Regions from separate parts of the Homo sapiens genome. Here region 2 is linked to region 1. The links are contacts of gene promoters, found by promoter capture Hi-C in human tissues and cell types (Jung and others, 2019). All regions are on one chromosome and are shown on one strand. The core of a region is centred on a gene start or on the middle of the fragment in contact, and the rest is flanking DNA. Distances in the headings are between cores, read along the strand shown.

Region 1 (6,898 bases), core at 3-2,502:
GACATGTGAATCCCCCATTGTGGGGAAAGGTACACCCAGACCCCTAGAGAAGAGCAATCATTCCGGAGCCAATCTGCTCAGTTCCAATTTTAGAAGCATCACTTAACAATGGGCTAAATTTTGGGAAAACACGTAATCTGTGCCTCAGTTTCCACATTTGTAATATGGGATAATTAGAAATCTACCTCATAGATGTCGCTGTAAGAATTAGAATCGATATATGTAAAGCTCTTAGATCACTGAGTGCTATATAAATATTAGCTATTTTAAGGTCGTTTTACTGAAATTCAGCAACTGAAATCGGGCAGACACTAATGTCAGGGCTTGTGGTTGCGATTTTGGGATATGCAAGCTCACTTAAGACATTCAAGGAGGTCTGGATCCTTTCCTCACTGCCCAGGCCCGGGCCCACCCCACCTTTAACCGTCAGGGTTCCCCACTACCTGGGAAGCCCCACACCCTCCAAAGATGCGCTAGGTGCGCCAGACGCATGCTCCTCTGCTCCGCTGGCTCCGAAGAACCAGATCTGAGGCCAAGATAAAACCCGATTCCTGATGTCCGACCCCCTAACATTAGAAGTCGAGAGATGAAGGGAAAACTCGGAAATCAGAGCCATGGATTCAAACCAGCACTGGAAAATGCCCCGGGACAGTTCGTGCTGAGCGCCTTAGCCACAGGTGGTGCTGAAGCTGGAGGGGTGGGGTGGGGGTGGAAGGTGGGGGAGGGGGGAGGGGAGTCTCTTAATTTCTCTGCGATCAACAACTAGAATTTTCCGTTACAACCCTTTCCCGCCTCCTCCTAGGTCCGGTTAAAATGATCCCCAGGTCGGGACCCGGGAGGGACTGTCCTCGGGTCCCGCGGCCAGGGCTGCGCCTCCCCTCCCTCGGGCCCTACGCGCCTCCGGCGGACGCGGGGATTCCTCCACAGTGGCCTCGCAGCTGGGGCAAGGGGGACATCCCCGGCGCCGCGGAGCCGCGAGCGGAGCGAGCGCCCGGGGCGCACCTGAGCCTCCAGCACTCCCCGCGGCCGCGGTAAACAGCATGTGCGGGCGCTGCGGGCCCCGGGCCGGCATCCGGGCTCGGGGATCGGGGATCGGGGATCGGGGATCGGGGCGCCCCCGCGCTGGCCGTCGCCGGCACTCACCGTTGTGTTTGCCGTACCCCCAGTGATGGGACATGGTCGCGCTGGCGGTCGGGGCAGGGCAGGAATCGGCACCGATCTGGCGGCGGCGGCTTGGGCGCCTGCACTGTGTGTCCGCGGGTCGCGCCGGCACCAGCTTTTATAGGCTCCCGCCAACTTCGTGCTCGGGGGCGGCCCGGGGGAGGGGGCTCGGGTGGACCTAGGCGACAAGGGGAGGTGGTGACGGGCGGAGGTGAACTCCCCGCGCTCGGGGCGGGGCGGGCCGGGCGGGCGAGTCTCCGGGGGCGGGGAAAACGCCCTCTCGGCTGGCGCCCGGCGGGGCTCCGGGGCTCCGGGGCTCCGGGGCTCCTCTCCCGCCGCCCGGCTCCCCTCGGCCCACGGCAGGGCCCCGGTGTCCTGGGCTGGCAGCGAAGCTCGGAGCTCTGGGCGTGCGGCGGCTGCGGTGGCTCCTGGGCTCCTCCGTCCAACCCGGGCCGCGGAGCCTCTACGCGCACCCCATCCCCCTCCCGGCTGCGGAGTCTGGCGGCGGCGGGGACTGCTCGGGACCCGGACCCCCGGCGCCTTTCGTCCCCTGTCCCCATTGTGACCTGTCTCTTGGCCCCGGAGCCCTCCCGCCCCACCCGCGCCGGGGTCTCCAGCGCGAAGGGCTCAGTCTCTGGTGTCCCCGGCCTGGGGCTGGCAAGCTGGGTTAGGAGCTATGACCTTGGGGCAAATAGGGATACGATCCTAGAGGCGCAGGGGAGCGCGCAGCATGAGTGCTGAGAGGCACGCGCCCTCTGCTGCACGGCCGTGGAATAAAACGAGACAACGGCCCCACAGTCCCCTGCCCGCAGCCCACGCTCGGGCGAGCCTGGAGGATTGCATTTCCTCGTAGGCTGGCAGAGCCTTACATGAAGCGCTCATCTTCTCCTACTTTCCTCCTCTTTAAAAAATTAACGTGGGTGAGGAGACGTCCTAGTTGAGTACATATTGATTTGAAATAACCAAAACTTTTAACAAATCACTTTTCTCAGAAGAATCCAGTAAGAGAAAGATAATTTCTTCCAAAGACATGAGACGTTCCCTGGCTGGCCAAGAAAAATTGGCATCTGGCATACCTAGGAATCATTCAAAATAGTTTAATAGGAAGGACATTTTGAGGCCAGCCAGCATTATGACATTTGTGGGTCCTACGGCATTTCACCTTGGTGGGTCCCTTTTTCATAAACACGCATTTATACCAACACTGACATAAAGATAAATATCTTAATATTATATATTTAAACATTTTCTTTAACCAACACCTAATTTTTTTCTTTTTTGTTCTTATTTTAAAAGGAAACATTTTCCTGGGCATCTAAAAGTATTGTGGACCTGAGACACTGTGCTTACAGGGCCTACTGGGTAAGTGAGGCTGTTTTGAGATATAGAGAGAATTCATTTCCTACAAGGGATTTTGCCACAGAAAAATCCGGGGGTTTGTGGGAAGGAGTTCGGTTCTGTGGTCTCTGCAATCTCTGAGGGCAATAGTATTAGAGTTACAGTTGGGGAAGCAGGACACAGTTTAATGTGATTGTGTCGGCCTTGACATCACATTACTTACCTTTGAAAATATACAGATAAATACAAGGATAAGTTATTAGTGGACATTTTTGCAATATGTATCTCAAAATCACTCTTTACTATTTATTTCAGTCAATTTCATCCAAACAAATATGATTCATGTTTAGACTTACTTGTTCTAAGATTCTAGAAAATTGTGTACTTCTGCTTATGTGGGTTTTGGGTTGATGTCACAGGGAATTCTTAGGCAAGAAAGCAGCAATAAAGTTTTTAAATTTTTAGGACCATTACAAAATGGAGTTTGTAGCAAAGAAGAAGCTTTTATTTGTGCCTCTGTAGGTGCATTGTATCTGTTGGGGCCCATTGATGTAATTTTGTTTCTTTACATAATTTTCAAATATTAACTTAGTTGCTATGAGACTCTTCACTTGGCCCTGGAGATATGGCGTTGATAGGTGCCAAGAATTGAGTGCAAAGTTTGTGAATGTAGAGTGGCTTCCCGGGATTCTGTGGAGGGAGCCAGGCGATTTGATCAGCAGGAATCCTTGTCTTTCATTTTCCGTGAAACTGGATTGTGGCTTTCCTAACAGGGATGAAGTAAGAGCATGTTTGATTCTTAAATATGCGTAAAACTTCAAACACCACCAAACTGCAGTTCACCAAATGGATTATTGTCATGGGAATTTTTCCTTATCTCTCACTTCTGGAAAGTGAATTAATTCTCAGTGGGAGCAAGCCCTCCCCACAGAGCTGCTGTTAGGGAGAGTGTCACATGTTCACCACAGGGTGGAGAGTGGTTCACCTTTGGTTACTCAGAAGCAATCTAAATTTTTTAGCAGCGTTTTTGGTATTACAGTGGTTGGCTTAGCATTGTTTTATTTTCCTGGTCAATTTTTTTTAATGGAGTTAACTTTATGCATTCATGTTGGTCAGTCCCAACCTAACTTTATTTTACTGAAGGCATTCTTCTTAGCAGGCTGTCATGATTCACTAGCTGCAAAAGACTACTCTAATACTGGATTTGTTCAAATAAAAAAAGTGCTTATCTTATTATGTACCTATCTTTCCATTAGAGGGAAGGATGGGTTCATTTCAGAATAATCTTAAGTAAAGGAACTGACAGTAGCTTAAGAAAAGTACTTTTCTTTGCCCCAGAAAAAAAAAAATTCAGGCAGTATATCAGGAAAATGTAATGTAAAAAAACTTAAAGTCTGTGTTCCAATTATTATAATAAAAAAGCTTCTAACATATTATTCTTAGTAAAAATGTGAAAGTATTTGCTTTTTCTCAAAAAATGTAAAGATATTGTTAAAATATTTTACAAGGTGAGATACACATTATTTATTAAATATTTAATTAAAAAGCTAATAAAAAGCCAGATATTCTCATATTTGTTACCATTATAGTGTTTAAGTAGATATCTGGGGCTGGACTCAGTGGCTCCCGCCTGTAATCCCAGCACTTTGGGAGGCCAAGGCAGGCGGATCGCTTGAGGTCAGGAGCTCAAGACCAGCCTGGGCAACATGGCAAAACCCCATCTTTACAAAAAATAAGAAGTTAGCCAGGCATGGTGGTGTGCCCCTGTAGTCCCAGCTGCTTAGGAGGCTAAGGTCGGCAGATCGGAACCCAGGAGGTTGAGGCTGCAGTGAGCCATGATCATGCGACTGCACTCCAGACTGGGAAACAGGAAGACACTGTCTCAAACAAAATAAAAATAAATAAATATCTATGAAGGCCAAGAGCCATTTGTTTCTTGGGGCTCCCATAGGTCTTTGCATACACATCCTTCTATCCTAATATTGGCAATTCTGCATTGTAATCAGACACTCTATTGTAATCATTGGGTTATAATCCAATGCCCCAATAAGCTGTTGACTGCTCATTTGTAAAGCAGGAATAATGACACTCACCTCATTGTTGTAAGAATTCAGTCAGTGAGCATAGATAAATCACCTGTCACGTGTAGGCACTCAGTAAATGATGGCTATTCAGTCCCTCCTAGACAGTGCTAAACAGTTAGAATATAATTTAAGGAATGCAAAATTAAACACCTGGGCCAGGTTCATGGGAAACATTTAAGAGGAATGAGTCTCCACAGCAGGAGGTGTTTTTTTGTTTGTTTTGTTTTGTTTTTTTTTGTGAGAGGACAGAGGAGTGTTTGGGTCATGGAGATGTCCATTCTACCACGCTTATGTTTTTCTTCCTAAACTGTGCCCCCTGAAGTTGAGTACTGTGTCACATTATTTATCTCTGTATCTTAGGCACCTAGTACCCTTTACCTAGCCTGAGTCCCAAGATACATATAGTAGTTACTCACATAGTACTCCTTGAAATTATAAACTTTGAAAAATCCAAATGGAGATAATGGCAGTTTCACTTTGCAGAAGTTAGTAAATAATTTTGTTACAGATTATAGTTAGCAAATAACATTGTGCTGAAATTAGGTTGGTTTTGAATCTGGGTTAATTTACTAGCTTTGTGACTTTGGGCAAATTTCTTGATTGTGCTAAGATTCAGTTTCCTCATCTATAAAACTAGGATAATAATAATACTTACCTCACAGAGTTGTGGTGAGGACTAAGATGATACAGTGTGTGAAGGATTTAACCTAGTGCCAATAATTAGAGCTTGATCAATGTCAGTTATCATTACTACCGTTACATGTTTCTCAGCTCCTATTTTGTGCTTAATATTTTCTATGTGCTAGGTGAGCTACACAAGATAACTTGTCTCATCATCCATTCACTCAATGAATCATTCTGAATGCTATTATGTGTCAGGCATCAGCACAGAGGCTATAGCCATAAACCAGATCAACATGACTCCTGCCCTCACAGAGTTTACATGGGGATGGATGGGGGTACTGTACAATAAATGACTCAAAATAAACAACAAAAGTAAATTTCCAATACTGAAAATTAGTATGAGGAAAGTAAAACAGGAATGAGGTAAAGAATAATGAGTGAGGAAATCCTACTTTAGATGCGGTGGTTATAGAAAACCTATTGAAGGAAGTACATTTGAGGAACCACTAAAAAAAGATCTGGGGGAGGGCATTTCAGGCAGAGGAAACAGCAAGTATAAAGGCCCTGAGAAAGGAAGTTTCTAGAACAGAAAAGCTTGTGACTGAAGCATGGTGACTGAGGAAGAAAAGACAAGTAGTGGAGTCAGAGACAGTCAGGGGCTACAGCCTGCAGAGCCTTGCAGACAATGATAGCAAGAAAGGATTTTATACTAGTTGCGCAGGGAAGCCACTAGGGAGTGGCTTATGCACAGGTATATTATGTGCTGGGAGGATATAATACAAACCACAACAATATATCATTGTAGAATTAAAAGAAGTTTGGAGGTTACCTGGTCCAACTATTTATTTTATAGATGAGGAGACTTGTAGAAGTCCCCAGATACAACACGCTGTTGCCTAGCTCCTTGCTTTTATTCATCTGACAACTTCCTTTACAGAAAGATCCAAACTTCTTCTTCTGACTATAAAACCATTTAATCCTGTCTCTGGCTTCCCTCTTGGACTCTGAGTCTCTCAATATCCTTCTTTGGTAAGATGTGAGGCAGCATCACAAGTGGCCAAGAGCCCAGGTTTTATAGTTTGGATTCAGCTTCGAGGGCTTCTTCACTACATGATCTTATATACTTATTTCACCTCCTCAAAGCTCAGTTTCCAAAGGTGAAATGTAGTAAGAGTACCCAGGGCTGCTGATCGTGGTAAATGGACTAGTTTGTGTGAATTGGTCCTGTGAATGAACATGATTCCTGGTATGTTGTTAGCTGCTCCATTAGGATTATTGTTATTGTAGTCAAGAACCATAGAATTGTGAAATGGGAATCGACTTTGTAATAAGACAGACCTGAGTTCATACTCTGACTCGAACACTTACTTGCTGCATCACCTTCAGCAAACTAAGCAATCCCTCTGAACTTCACATGCTTTATTTGTAAATGGGGACTGGGCGGAACGGGGCGAAGGGAATTCTAGCTCCACAACGTGATGAGAATGAATGTCTGGAAGATGCTAGATACAATCCTGGCATATTTTCTTTGTTGAATAAATGGTATGATTGTCATTACATATAATATTTTCCATTGTCAAATAACAGGTTGACTTTCCTAGTTCTCTAACTTGGATGAAAATTCACATGTATTTAATTGACATTATTTGAGTTCCTGATCTATAAAAATAGCTAACACTTATTGAAAACTG
Region 2 (7,509 bases), core at 3,978-6,477, 140 kb before region 1:
TTAACAATTCCTATCATTGTAGGTTCAGGAACTTGGAGATGGCCTCAGGTTTGAACAGCCTGGTTACCAGCCTTGGGTTTCCTTGGATCTCCCAACTTCCTTAATGTCTCATCTTAGTGATGACTAAATTGAATTCTTGAGACTGTGTGGGTTAGAAACCAAGGCCAGGATGTGACACTTGAATCTGGACTCTACCTTGTATCTGTCAATTCTCAACTGGCCGCTATACTTACCTTTAGCCTAACATTCACCTTGGCCTGCTAATACAAACCCATGGGTTACACTAATGAGGCTGGGCTCTGCTACATCCTATACCCAGGCTTCATTCCATGGGATAGTGCCTTATATTGGAGATAATTATTCTTTTGTGGGAGCCAAGAATATTCAGCAAAGTGTTTGGCGGCCCTCAGTAAACAGAACTCAGCTAATTCTTTGGTCCTTCCTGTGTCCAAAACTTATTTTCCTCTGTGCTTCCTGCTTCCCTGTCTTTGCTAATACTAACTTTAAACAACGTGGGCCAGAAAATTCAGCTTCTTAAATCCCCCAGGGTCCATGATTATCTGGCTCTCCGAGATTTTGAAGTCTGGCCTGTAAGCAACAAGGACTTCCTTAGCATGGCTGCATGCTGGTTCTATTTCCAGATGTGTCTGTTTTTAGATACTTACCTTTTTTAGAACTTTACTAATAGCTGTAAAAAATGATTAACACACTCCAACATCCTGATATTGTTCCTGTCTCCTAATGCTCTAACCTCAGTGATAATATGACCTATGTTACAAGATACAAGTAACTGTTAAATTAGTTTGTTGACTAAATTAAAAAAAAATCGAGCTCTCAAAAAATTAGTTTCATGCAGAAGTCTTGCTGAGGACTGTTGACTGAAGACTAGAGCCCAGGAGGAATTCTTCAGAGAGGTTTTGTCAGACTCCTCCAAAATGGTGCTTTAGCTCACAGCTTATACACAGGTAGTAGGGGTTCAGTATGTTCAAAATCATAGCAAAGTTTGGGTGTAAGAGTACATCTGGTTATGGAGGCATAGTCACTATGCCTGACAGATGCTATCTTATGTATAGGAAAAGGCAAGAACTAGGGTCATTTATCTTTTAAAGAGTATAGTGACTCAGGCAAGAGACGTGGGGGCCATATGCTCTATCCTGTTTTGTCTTCAAAGCATCCCTCTGAAGAGCTGCAGGTTGTCAGAGTCAGGGGCTTTATGAAACTACGTTGGCAAGCAGAAACAAGCAAACATGATTTACTACATTTGCTACTTTGGCTCACAGTCAGCTGACATAAACACACCCTAATAAGACTTGCCATCTTCCAAAATGATGGTAAAAGTTCTTCTTTGTGCTTCATTGCAATTGCAACTCAGTTGAGTTTATTTCATGTTTTGGTGTTTGTCACCTATGACATTCCACTCTGAATATCAATTTTGTGTCAACCAAGACTCTTTTGGGATAAAGTAACAGAATCCACTTCATACCTATTTAAAAAGAAAAGAGAACATGGACATATGTAATAGGGCATATGTGGTTTTGGGCACAGTTAAATCCACGGAATCAAATGATATTTTCAGGTTGCTAACTCTGTATTTCCAGATAAGCCCCTTCCTGTGGTGGGAAAGATAGCCACCAGCATCTCTAGACGCATATCCTATTCACAGAAAGAAATGGTCTTTCCCAGTAGTTTTTATAAAACATCCTAGGAAGGATCTAATTGGCTCAGCTTGTTTCAGATGTCATTGCAGAACCAATTACTGTGACCAGAAATAAGAGATAATTTGACTGGTCATGTCTGGCTAAATCCAGACCCTGTAACTTGGGATTGGATGCAGGATTGGCCCTAATTAAATAGCCTGGAATGGATTTTCTCAGGAAAGATTCTATGTATTATCCTAAAAGGTAAAAAGATTTATTGTGATGTTGTTATGTACTCAATTTATATTCTATAATTTTCAACTGAAAGCGTCTTCATTGATAGAAATATGTGTTAATTACAGACAATCTGGACTTACAATGGTTCCACATGATTTTTTCAACTTTATGGTGGTACAAAAGCAACATGCATTTAGTAGAAATCATACTTCAGGTATCCATATAACCATTCTGTTTTTCACTTTCAGTATAGTATTCAATAAATTCCATAAGATATTGAATACTGTTGTTTTTTTTTAATTTTTTTGAGACAGGGTCTCACTCTGTCACCCAGGCTAGAATGCAGTGGTGCCATCATAGCTCTCTGTAGCCTGGAATGCTTGGGATTAAGAAATTATCCTCAGATTCCAGTATAGGTGTACACCAGCACACTTGGCTAATTTTTTACTTTTTGTAGAGATGGGATCTCACTATGTTGCCTAGGCTGGCCTCGAACTCCTGGTTTCAAGTGATCCTCCTCCCGCAGTCTCTTAAAGTGCTGAGATTACAGGTGTGAGCCACAGTGCCTGGCCAGCACTTTATTATTAAATAGGTTTGGTGTTAGATGATTTTGCCCATCTGCAGGCTAATGTAAATGTTCTGAGCATAATTAAGGTAGGTTGGGCTAAGCTATGGTGTTCAGTAGGTTAGGTGTATTAAATGCATTTTTGACTTAAAATATTTTCAATTTATGATGGGTTTTTTGGGGTATAATCCCATCTTAAGTCTAGGGGCATCTGTATATTCTAATCTAGAAATCAGAGAAGCTAAATTAGACTGAATATATTTTGCTTCTCCTTTCTTTTCCCTTTTTAAAATGTTACTCTGATAAGATTGTTTCCCTAAGTGGTTGGGACTAAGGGGGAAGGCAGGGAGATTTTGAATGAGTTTAGCCAGATACCTGTGTCTCTTCAGAGTGTAGATAATGACACCCTCAGAAGTCAAGGGGCATAGAGAGAGTGTTGGAGATAAGCAGGAGGGCGGTATCAATAAACATTTTTCTGGAATAAAAACAATTTTGGTGAATCTGGGATTTAATGACAATAATTTGCAATGTCTCTTTGGCATTGAAAAGGAGATGGGATAGTGTTTTGCTTTGAGCCTTCAGCTCCCGTCCTACTCAACCCATCTGTACCAACTGATTTTAAAAGGCAATAAAATGCTCATTAACTATCTCCCAATACATTTGACAACTGTGGAAATAATATAAAACAGAAAGCGAGAATTGGCCCTTGTTTGAAAGCACTTAAATTCTATTCAGGCAGCAATGAAATTCTGTAGTAGCCAAAAGCCTTTCAAGCACTCAGCAAGTTACAAATCCTCTGATTCGAGTCTTCAGGGAGAAAGACATTGCTAGTGAATCCAATAAAAGTTTTCTGCAGCTAGGTAATGACCACACATGTAGCTTTACAGTCTTTAAGAAAAAAAATGAGACCGGGCACATTGATTCACGCCTGTAATCCCAGCACTTTGGAAGGCTGAGGCAGGCAGATCACTTGAGGCCAGGAGTTCCAGACCAGCCTGGCCAAAAAGGCAAAAAACCCCGTCTCTACTAAAAATACAAAAATTAGCTGAGTCTGGTGGTGTGTCCTGTAGTCCTAGCTACTTGGGAGGCTGAGTTAGGAGAATCACTTGAACCCAGGAAGCGGAGGTTACAGTGAGCTGAGATCACACCTGTACTCCAGCCTGGGTGACAGAGCAAAAGTCTGTCTTAAAAAAAAAAAAGAGTAAAAGCAAAATAAATAAAAGGTAACATGAGATATACTGAGTAAGAAATTTACACCATTTTCCAAAGCTGTGCTGCCCGGTAGAAATACAACGTAACCCACAAATGTGAGACACATAGGTAATTTCAAATTTTCCAATAGCCACATTTTAAAAAGGGAAAAAGAAATAAGGAAAATTCATTTAATAACATACTTAATCCAATATATTCAAAATATTATTTCAAATATTTATTCAAGATATTTTCAACTATTTCAACATATGGTCAACATAAAAATAATTTATGTGATATTTTACATTCCTTTTTTTTGGTATTAAGTCTTCCAAATCCAGCGTGTGTTTTAGTCTCGATTTGACCTGGCCACATTTCTAGTCAATAGGCATGTGTGGCTAGTCACTACCCCGCTGGACACTGCAGTGCTATCACTTCATGGTGAAAGTACAGGGCTGCAACAATGGACAGGGCATTGGGTTTGTGTTAAGCAGATGTGAGAATGGATAACTGGCTTGACTGTGTTGCTTCACCTTGTCAAATTACTTATCCTCCGAGTCTCAGTTTTCATATCCATAAAATAATAATAATATTTCCTTTGTAGAATTTCATGCAGGTTAAAAATAACATTCACAAAGCATTAGCTATATAGTTGGCTCTCAATAACTGTAGCTATATTTAATCATATTCTGATATATGAAGCACAGGTGATTTTTTTCTTTCTTTCTTTTTTTTTTTTTTTTTTGAGACAGAGTCTCACTCTGTCACCCAGGCTGGAGTGCAGTGGCGCAATCTTGGCTTACTGCAACCTCCGCCTCCTGGGTTCAAGCAATTATCTTGCCTCAATCTTCCAAGTAGCTGGGACTACAGGCAAGTGCCACCATGGCCAGCTAATTATTTGTATTTTTAGTAGAGACGGGGTTTCACCGTGTTAGCCAGGATGGTGTCGATCTCCTGACCTCGTGATCCGCCTGCCTCAGCCTGTGAAAGTGGTAGGATTACAGGCATGAGCCATTGTGCCCAGCCAGGTGATTTCCTTTGAAGGCAAAAATTTTATGATTTTCACTCAAATGTAGAAGGGGATCTTTAAAATCGACCAAACTTCTGAAATATGATTTTAAAGATAAACAACCAGGACTTTGTTTCACATTTGCTTTTCTAGTAGATTCTGTTTATGTGTTCTTTCTTTGTATTTCAAGATAATATGAGGCTTTCTCCACTACTACATTGTCTTACTTACTAATGATGAATGTATCTATTAGACAATATTTGGAAGAGAGGTTCACACAAATCTAGAAGTGTTAGGCAATATGTAAGTTTTGTGAAAATTAATGTGAGAGCAGGGAGCATGGCTTTGTAATCCTGGTTTCTCATCACAGAGACTATGGAAGGATTTTTGTATAAAGAAAATGATCAAGAATTCTCATGGAATTGAGCAGAATTTGAAAATATCTTTTAAACAAAGGAGTGAAATTTAATACAAAGTCAATGGACTTTGTAGTCCCAGCTACTCGGGAGGCTGAAGTGAGACAATCACTTGAACCCAGGAGGTGGAGGTAGCAGTGAGCTGAGATCCCATCTGTACTCCAGCCTGGATGACAGAGCAAGAGTCTGTCTCAAAAAAAAAAAAAAAAAAAAAAAAAAAGAAAGAAAGGAAGAAAAGGAAAGAAAAAGAAATATGAGTAAGGGCAAAATAAATAAAAGGTAACATGAGACATATTGAGTAAGAAATTTACACCACTTTCCAAAGCTGTGCTGTCTAGTAGAAATGCAATGCAAGACACAAATGTGAGACACACAGGTAATTTCAAATTACAAATTGAACAGAGTCAATGTCCAATTTTTTGTACAATATATAGATTTGGTCTTGTTTTTTATTGCAAGGTACAATTTTAGCAATAAAAACCAATAAAATTACACGAATGCCTTTTCTTTTTTTCTTTTCTTTTTTTGACACAGAATCTCGCTGTGTCACCCAGGCCTGAATGCAATGGCACGATTTTGGCTCACTGCAACCTCTGCCTCCCAGGTTCAAGCAATTCTCCTGCCTCAGCCTCCGAGTAGCTGGGATTACAGGTATGTGCCACCATGCATGGCTAATTTTGTATTTTTAGTAGAGATGAGGTTTTACCATGTTGGCTAGGGGACATACATTTTCTATGACAACTTAAAACCAAGTGCTATATAAATTAAGAGTACGGATGCATATTTAACAAATGTGTTTAAGACCTAAGATGATTTCCTACTTTTCAGATCCTAAATTTAGTGTGGTTTATCAGCCCCACTTTAGACAGGCACTGTTGAAGGAGACTGAGAAATAGAACCCAGTAGGAATAAGTCATGATAAAAGTATCTACTGGGATAAGTGACGGGAGGAAATCTAGAATTATTATGCAACATATAAGTTCTGTGAAAATAAATGCAGAAAACTAAGCTTGCTTGTTTAAAACATAATGTTCTTTTTTTTTTCTTTTTTTTTTGAGACAGAGTCTCGCTCTGTCGCCCAGGCTGGAGTGCAGTGGCGCGATCTCGGCTCACTGCAACCTCCGCTTCCCAGGTTCAAGCAATTCTCCTGCCTCAGCCTCCTGAGTAGCTGGGATTACAGGCGCCCACCACCATGCCCAGCTAATTTTTGTATTTTTAGTAGAGCCGGGGTTTCACCATGTTGGTCAGGCTGGTCTCGAACCCCTGACCTCGTGATCCACTGGCCTCAGCCTCCCAAAGTGCTGGGATTACAGGCATGAGCCACTGCACCCGGCCAAAACATATCTGTTCTTTACTCCAGAAAGAAAAAGAAGACCCACTAAAAAATCTTGCTTTTGTAAAGATAAAATATTTTCAGTATTTTGTATCAAATTTGAGAAAAGAAAGTCTTAATGTAGAAGGCCAAATATGAGAGAATGTTGAGTTATTCTTGGTAATGAGGGGAGGCAGACAAGAATCATGCCAGCACTGAATACCAAATTACACAAGAAAATTTGACTATAAAAACATGAACAGAGCAGCCACCTGAATTATAATTTTTGCAGCATTTGGCATTTTTGAGACATTCATGGTGGCTTACATGGAAACACATCATGAAATACTTCTAATAAGATTTTAAGCCTACTTTACCTGAAGTTAGGATTAAACATTACCTTGTCAGTTTAATATTAACCAAATTTGCCTGGTGTGGTGGCTCACACCTGTAATCCCAGCACTTTGGGAGGCTGAGACAGGTGGATCACTGAAGGTCAGGAGTTTGAGACCAACCTGGGAAACATGGTAAAACTTTGTCTCTACTAATAATACAAAAAATTAGCTAGGCATAGTGGTGGGCACCTGTAATCTCAGCTACTCAGGAGGCTGAGGCAGAAGAATCACTTGAACCTGGGAGGCAGAGGTTGCAGTGAGCTGAGATCACACCACTGCACTCCAGCTTGGACAACAGAACAAGAATCTGTCTAAAAATATATATACGTATTGAAGTTATCTATTTTTCCCTGGTTCATTAAATAAACAACTAATTTTACTCTTAAAAATCAAGTCTTCTTATGACTGTGACATGTTTTCAGAAAAAAAAATTAAGTCTTAAGTCTTCACTCGTGAAAGACTATTTTGGGGGAATCTTTATTTAGAAATTATTGTCTTCTCATTGTTAAAATATTTACAGAATGTCTAATCGAGACTTTCACATAGTGGGTGCCTCCTAAATTTTGATGACTGAATGAATCAGGGATAATTTGAATATTAAAACCAATTAAATTACAATAATAACAGAAAAAGATTAGTATGCAAAGGTTGAAGTTCAGTTTCATTCTAGAGATAAGAAAACATTTTGTGAGAGATTCTTCAAATGCACTCTAAATTTCAGTGGCCATTTATTTATTTATTTATTTA

The links. Contacts are between HindIII fragments. The study calls those that stand out against the background at their distance.
Region 2: a fragment that was not itself captured here is called in contact with the fragment with the promoter of CA2 in region 1 in 1 of the 25 tissues and cell types used here (hippocampus).

What each region holds. Positions count from the first base shown.
Region 1 is chr8:85,458,361-85,465,258 of GRCh38, reverse strand. CA2 (carbonic anhydrase 2) reads right to left here and starts at 1,252. Exons shown (of 7, transcript NM_000067.3): 1 at 1,144-1,252. The coding sequence starts at 1,177. CA3-AS1 (CA3 antisense RNA 1) reads left to right here and starts at 344. Exons shown (of 3, transcript NR_121630.1): 1 at 344-677; 2 at 2,458-2,523. RefSeq lists enhancers at 644-1,143, 3,044-3,739 and silencers at 787-1,256, 1,367-1,686, 1,757-2,016. The HindIII fragment of the contact is 9,073 bases long and covers 1-3,461 here.
Region 2 is chr8:85,605,278-85,612,786 of GRCh38, reverse strand. No RefSeq gene overlaps it. Among named protein-coding and RNA genes, the nearest start is that of CA3-AS1, 140 kb to the right of the region's middle. The HindIII fragment of the contact is 5,534 bases long and covers 2,461-7,509 here.